Linked DNA regions of Homo sapiens: region 2 is linked to region 1. The links are contacts of gene promoters, found by promoter capture Hi-C in blood cells and fetal thymus (Javierre and others, 2016). All regions are on one chromosome and are shown on one strand. The core of a region is centred on a gene start or on the middle of the fragment in contact, and the rest is flanking DNA. Distances in the headings are between cores, read along the strand shown. Region 1 holds the start of AARS2 (alanyl-tRNA synthetase 2, mitochondrial). Region 2 has its middle 2.8 kb from the start of MRPS10.

Region 1 (3,402 bases), core at 356-2,855:
CTTTCAAGTCCCAGACCAAGTCCCACTTTCACATGAAATTCTCTGCCTACTCTAGCCTAGAGTGATCTTTAACTCCAGTAAGCACCTTAGCATTGCTGTTTGACCATTTATTCAAACAACAATTTTTGAGTGATCATTAGGCAGAAAGTACAGTCTCTGCCCTTCAGGGACTTACAATCCAATCAGGGAGGTGAGGTAATTCCTGTTACACCGGCTCAACTAGCACTTTGCCTCCACATCTGGTATGAGGCCCTGCCTAAGCAGACAGTACAATGGAAACAGGACAAATTGACTCCCTTCTTGGCTGATCACTGATCCCCAGAGACTCACCTTAAAATATTCACCCCCAAAGGCCCAATTGCCAAGCATTTCAAAGAAGGTATGATGGGAAAGGTCTCGACCCACATCTTCCAGGTCGTTATGGTGTCCTCCAGCTCTCACACATTTCTGGCTGTTGGCCACACGTCGGAAGCCTGCCATCTCGCTTCGTGGATCCACGGTGCCCAGAAAGATTGGCTTGAACTGGAAGCACATAGAGTGGGGAGGGGGAGAGGGATATCCAATTTCTCAGTAGAAGGGAAATGTGGGGAGTGAGGATAGGGATGGCTGTTCAGACCGAAGGCTGACTGTGCCCCTGAGAGTGCAGTGTAATCTTGGTCTATGAGGACAAACTGGGAGCCTCGGGACAGCCATCTCTGGTGTGTGGGGAGCAGAGAAGAGGTAAACAAATCATGAACCGGAGACCCTCTGCCTAGTAAAATAGGCAAGGTAAAAGAAGGAGGAATGTGTTGGGAGCTGGAAATGGGACGCTGAAAGGTGGCATCCTCCGTCTCAGCTTCTTCAACCACACCCAATAACTTCAGGGAACAAAACTGAGACTCATTTAGTAGGGAGCCCAGACGGCCTCTAAGGTTAACTTATGCCGCCCCTATTTTACAGATGAGGACAATGAAGTCTAGAAAAGATGAGTGGTTGATAAAAACCAAAACCTTAGAGAATAGTACTCAGCAAACAATAGGTGATCAATAAACATTTAATGAAAGCGTTATCTTTATTTAAATAACGAATAAATGAAATCAGACTTCTCCCTCGGGATTCCACTCCAGCCATTTCTGGACCTAATACTCAATCCCAATCCAGAAGTTCCCAGCTCAAGCCCTCCCCAAGCCCTCCCTATACTCTGAGCGCCGTACCCCCATCACTTTACCCAACCAAGCACCGCCCTCTTTCCCCAAAAGCTACGAACTCCGCCTCTCGCTTCTTTTGCCCAATCCTGCAGCGTCTTTCTCACCAGAAAACTCACGAACTCCGCTCCCTATCAGTATGGTTCGGCCCTCACCTGGTTCATGCCCGCATTGACAAAAAGCAAACTGGGGTCGCCGCGGGGCCGCACGGAAGCGGAGGGCACCAGCCGGTGGCCATGGCGGTCCCGAAAGAAGTTCAGAAAGGCGGCCCTCACGGCCGAGGCCTTGGCTGCAGGGGGCTCCGATGAGAGCGGCCGATGGCTGAGGCCCCGCCATGCGGGCGACCTTCGAATGGCCCGCCGCAGCCTCCGGGCTGCAGCTGCCACTGACGCTGCCATCGTAGCTCCGGGCAGTGACTTTACGTGGTCAAAGAGTGACGAGGGAAGGAAGCCAGGCGTTTCCTACAGCGGCCCCTGGCGGTAGGAGGACTCAGGGGGCGGCCTCTGCCGCCGGGGTGGAAGCGATCGATTGGGTCGCTGGCAGAGTCTAGCACAGCGCCCGGCACATAGTAGGCTCTTAATTCATTCGGCATTAAGCAAATATTCATTGAGAGCCTACTATGTGCTAGGCATTGTTTTGGGCTTTTAGGGTACAAAATTGACAAAATGCCCTGCCCACTGAAATCCGTATTCTAGCAGTAATTGCTGTTGTGCTTATTAGTTTTGCAAAGTTACAGATGGGGTTGCAATAAACAGGTGTGGATTCAACTTCGTGTGTGTGTGTGTGTGTGTGTGTGTGTGTTTTGTGTGTGTTTTTCCAGGCTGAGGGAAGAAGGCAGAGAGTGACAGGGGAGTATCAGCATTCATTCAAGAGGTATTCAACAAATATTTATTGAAGACCTAGTATGTGCTAGGCACTGTTCTAGGCATTTGCCAGTTTCCTTGGACCTTGGCATCAGACACGGCCATTTTTGCCCGTGAAGCAGGAGTCTATAGGAGAACACAGAAGCCAAACAGCATCTGCTATATTATTAATTGCCTAACATTTGGTCTTCTCATTTGCCTGGGGATCAGAGAGAATCCAGGTCGTCAAGGCAGGAGGAAGCTGTTGGCTAATAGCTGCAGAGATTTCACTCTCTAAGCCTTCTAATGCCCTAAGGTTTTGTGTGTTTTCGTTTAGGATAAGAGATATACCTGTTCTACCTCTCCCTTCTGTCTTTCCATAGTAACAGCTGTGACCCTGAAGCCAACAGGCCCTTGTGGATGCAATCAGGGTGCTCATGGGGCTTCTCATGATGCCCTTGGCTTGGGAAATTAAACAGATTGGGAAGACAGAAGAGAATCTGCCAAAGCTAAAACTCAATAGAGGTTCCAGAGCTGAGGTCAGTGTAATAACCGAGAAGGCCTTAGCCATCAGGGTGGTCTCTTTTAGCCACGATTCTGTGTGTGTTAAGTTATTTGGGGTCTTTGTATACATAGTTTCTCTGCGGAATCTACATTGGACTTGAATTTCTATAGTGATAGTAAATTCTTAACTTTGTGTTCTGACAGCACCTATAACTCCTATTCCATGATCCCCTTTTTCTCCCTTTGCCCACATAGATTAAAGGTGTTGTTTTGAAAGTGTGTTTGGCCTGTTTTGGTTTTTCCAGTGTTTCTGGAACAGAAAGCTAAAGCCAGCTGGGGATTTCTGTGTGATTAATGACTTTTTTATTTTTTTGAGATGGGGTTTCACTCTTGTTGTGCTGGCGTGCAATAGCACAATCTCGGCTCTCTGCAACCTCTGTCTCCCGGGTTCAAGCAATTATCCTGCCTTAGCCTCCTGAGTAGCTGGGATTACAGGCATGCATCACCACGCCCGGCTAATTTTGTATTTTTAGTAGAGATGGGGTTTCTCCATGTTGGTCAGGCTGGTCTTGAACTCCCGACCTCAGCTGACCTGCCTACCTCAGCCTTCCGAAGTGCTGGGATTACAGGCATGCACCACTGCGCCCAGCTGAGATTGATGATCTTTAGACAAGACTGTGAAATTATTTCCCAAACTGAGATGGGAGTGTTTTGCCATACAAACCTGGCAGGGCCTCTACTCAGTACTGACATCAACTTTTTTTTTTTCAGATTTTGCCCAGAAAGTCATTGTGTTACATTAGAAACTCCAAACATGGATCTAGTGTGGAGCCATATAATTTTTTTAAAACAGCTTTATTGAAATATAATTT
Region 2 (3,532 bases), core at 811-3,310, 2.1 Mb before region 1:
AAGTAAAAAGATGTATAACTGGGATTTGCTATAATAAAAACTTCTTCAGGCTGGGTGCGGTGGCTCACGCCTGTAATCCCAGCACTTTGGGAGGCTGAGGTGGGCGGATCACCTGAGGTCAGGAGTTCGAGACCAGCCTGGCCAACATGGTGAAACCCCATCTCTACTAAAAATACAAAAAATTAGTGGGGTGTCATCGTTGTGTGCCTGTAGTCCCAGCTACTCAGGAGGCTGAGGCACGAGAATTGCTTGAACCCGGGAAGTGGAGGTTGCAGTGAGGCAAGATCGTGCCACTGCACTCCAGCCTGGGAGACACAATGAGACTCTGTCTAAAAAAAAAAAAAAAAAAAGAAAAGAAAAGAAAAGGCCAGGTGCAGTGGCTCGGCTCACACCTGTAATTCCAGCACTCAGCACTTTGGGAGGCCAAGGCGGGTGGATCACCTGACGTCAGAAGTTCAAGATCAGCCTGGCCAACATGGCAAAACCCTGTCTCTACTAAAAATACAAAGTCAGGCATGGTGGTGTGCACCTGTAATCCCAGCTATTTGGGAGGCTGAGGCAGGAGAATCTCTTGAACCCGGGAGGCAGAGAGTGCAGTGAGCCGAGATTGAGATTGTACCACTGCACTCCAGTCTAGGGAACAGAGCGAGACTCCGTCTCCAAAAAAAAAACTTATTCCATTTGTGCAAATCTTTAAAAATTTATTTTTATTTTTCCTTTTACTTTCTCCTCATCTTAAAGTCTGCTTCTATAATACTATATTGTCTTTTTTGTGTGTGTGTGTGAGACAGTGTCTCGCTCTGTTGCCCAGGCTGGAGAGCACTGGCTTGATCATAGCCCACTGCAGCCTCAAACTCCTGGGGTTAAGTGATCCTCACACCACAGCCTCTGGAGTATCTAAAACTACAGGTGTTTGCGACCATTTTTTATTTTATTTTTATTGTTTTGTAGAGACAGAGACTTGCTATGTTGCCCAGGCTGGTCTCAAACTCCTGGCTTCCAGCAATCCTCTCACCTTGGCCTCCCAAAGTGCTGGTTTTACAGGTATGAGCCACTGCACTTGGCCCATTTGTTCACATTTCTAAGCTTTATTTCCCCAAAGTGCTTTCACATATGCATTTTAGCCTAATGGAAAACTCTAGCCTTATAATCAGATCTGGTTTCTAATCCCAGGCTTACCAGTTAGTTGAGTGACTTTGAGCAAGTTACTTCCTTACCCTCAGCCTCAGTTTGCTCATATGTCAAAAAAAAAAAAAAAAAAAAGATAACAGTAGTTCCTGCTTCCAATAGTTGCTTGGGAATTCAATGCAATACCAATATATGGTGTTTAGTACAATACTGCCATGTAATGATACACTATAGATGTCATCCACTATTTGTGCCATTAAGTTTCTACCTCACCTGCCTCACAAGGTTGTTGAGAAGATTAAAAATAAAAAGATCAAGTTTATGAGAATATTTTATAGCATCCAAATAAAGAACTGTACAAATATAAAGTTGTTTTTTTTTTCTCCCCACAAATAGTTATTACTACCCTATTTTGCAGGCAAGAGAACCAAAGAAGAGGCAGAATGATTTGCCCAACATCACACCTATCTAGGAGATAGAAAAGGTCTAGGAGCAGAAACCAGTTTTCCTGCCCCTCAGGCTGGCCTCTGTTTACTAGAATTCAGTCCGTGTTGAGGTGTGGCAGAGATTCCAGTGTGGCCTTGCAACAGGGTATGGAAACAGCACACTTCACCTGTGTGCACTTCTTATTTATTTATTTTTGAGACGGAGTTTCACTCTTGTTGCCCAGCCTGGAGTGCAATGGCATGACCCTGGCTCACTGCAACCTCCACCTCCTGGGTTCAAGTGATTCTCCTACCTCAGCCTCCTGAGTAGCTGGGATTACAGGCATGCGCCACCACGCCCAGCTAATTTTTGTATTTTTAGTAGAGACGGAGTTTCTCCATGTTGACCAGGCTGGTCTCAATCTCTTGACCTCCTGATCCGCCCACCTTGGCCTCCCAAAGTGCTGGGATTACAGGCTTGAGCCACCACACCCGGCCTCACCTGTGTGCCCTTCTGCTGGACTCGGTGATGCCCCATGTTGGCAGGTTGCCCAGTGCCCTTCTCAGAATCAGTCTCTCTCTCTGAATTGTGACACTTAAGGGGATTTCTCTCAGCCAATGGGGTTTTCCAACAGCCTCCCCACTCCCAACTCTGTTCCTGCTTCCAAAGTTTGCATCGGTTTGTCCAAATGGCACTTCCGTGAGGCCCTTCACCCTGCCTCTGTCCCCTTTGAGTAGCCTCAGCTGGGTGAGTGTTCTGCAACTATAGTGCTTGCAAACGACTTTCACCTAAGTTACCTACTCTGATCCACACCAGAAGACATGGATTTTATCCTCATTTTATAGATGAGGAACCCAAGGTGAAATGACTCACTCAGGGTCATATGGTAAGTTAGTTACAGCTAAACCAATAACCATCTTAAAAGCAGTGCCTTTTCTACCTCTGCAGTGGGCTGGTGCTGATTCTATGATGAGGTTCGGTTCTATTTAAATCTCTTGGATAATAGGACTAGAAATACCCACCACCCTAGCACCACTCCAAAAGAAATAGGGGCTTATTTTTAAAGACCTGTGTGGTCTGGACAGCTCCTGGAACTGGAAAGGTATGCTTTAAACAGTCTTAGGGACTGGATACCCTCTTCACTCCTGAGGCCAAATGTGTTCTTTTTAATGATGGGCTTTCACTGCTTACCAATAGTTTCTGCTCCCTCAGGACTCTGCATGGCCACTGCTCTCTGCTTTTGGCTCATCAAGTTTCTCCATTCATACTCTCAAATGTGGAAATTTGATTTGGTTCTCTCATCTTCCTGGGCTGAGCCAAATGTGTCACCACACGGCCTAGGGGCCTAATGGTTTGGGATCAAGTGCCGACTTGCTAGGGCCTAGGTAGAACTCATTGTAAGGGGCAACATCAGGTTTTGCCCAGAGTAGGGCTGTGAACAGTGCTCTTTGGCATGAGGTGTGGGCAGGGACAGCGTTCTGAAGCTTGGCCTATCCGTTAAGGGTCTCTTTCCTACAGCCTAAACTTCCAGACACCCAACCTCATGTAGAGGAGCAGGAGTCCAATGATTCTAGATAGTTGATGCAAGTAAACCTTGCTTTATGTCCAGAAAAAATAAACATAGATACATCAAATATTTTACAGTTAATCATATTTTGATTGTGCCAGTTGTTCTGTTTTTAAAGACAGTCCTTTCCAAAAGATCCTCTCGTACATAAAGGAAGTAATCAGCTCTTTGGCTCCTTTTTTTATATTTATTTTTATTATTATTGTTTTTTTGAGACACAGTTTCACTCCTGTTGCCCAGGCTGGAGTGCAATGGCTTGATCTCGGTTCACTGCAACCTCTGCCTCTTGGGTCCAAGGGATTCTCCTGCCTCAGCCTCCCGAGTAGCTGGGATTACAGGCATGCGCCATTATGCCTGGCTAATTTTTGTATTTTTAGTAGAGACAGGGTTTCTCCATGTTGGTCAGGCTGG

The links. The method cuts DNA at HindIII sites, captures the fragments that hold promoters and counts their contacts. A CHiCAGO score of 5 or more calls a contact.
Region 2: a fragment that was not itself captured here is called in contact with the fragment with the promoter of AARS2 in region 1 in 1 of 17 cell types (total B cells); the score reaches 5.8 in total B cells.

What each region holds. Positions count from the first base shown.
Region 1 is chr6:44,311,742-44,315,143 of GRCh38, forward strand. It overlaps AARS2 (alanyl-tRNA synthetase 2, mitochondrial), which reads right to left and starts at 1,606. Exons shown (of 22, transcript NM_020745.4): 1 at 1,340-1,606; 2 at 331-522. The coding sequence starts at 1,582. It overlaps LOC124901322 (a long non-coding RNA gene), which reads left to right. Exons shown (of 3, transcript XR_007059594.1): 3 at 2,410-2,806. RefSeq lists an enhancer at 1,351-1,910. The HindIII fragment of the contact is 8,838 bases long and covers 1-3,402 here.
Region 2 is chr6:42,218,846-42,222,377 of GRCh38, forward strand. No RefSeq gene overlaps it. Among named protein-coding and RNA genes, the nearest start is that of MRPS10, 2.8 kb to the left of the region's middle. The HindIII fragment of the contact is 1,952 bases long and covers 1,085-3,036 here.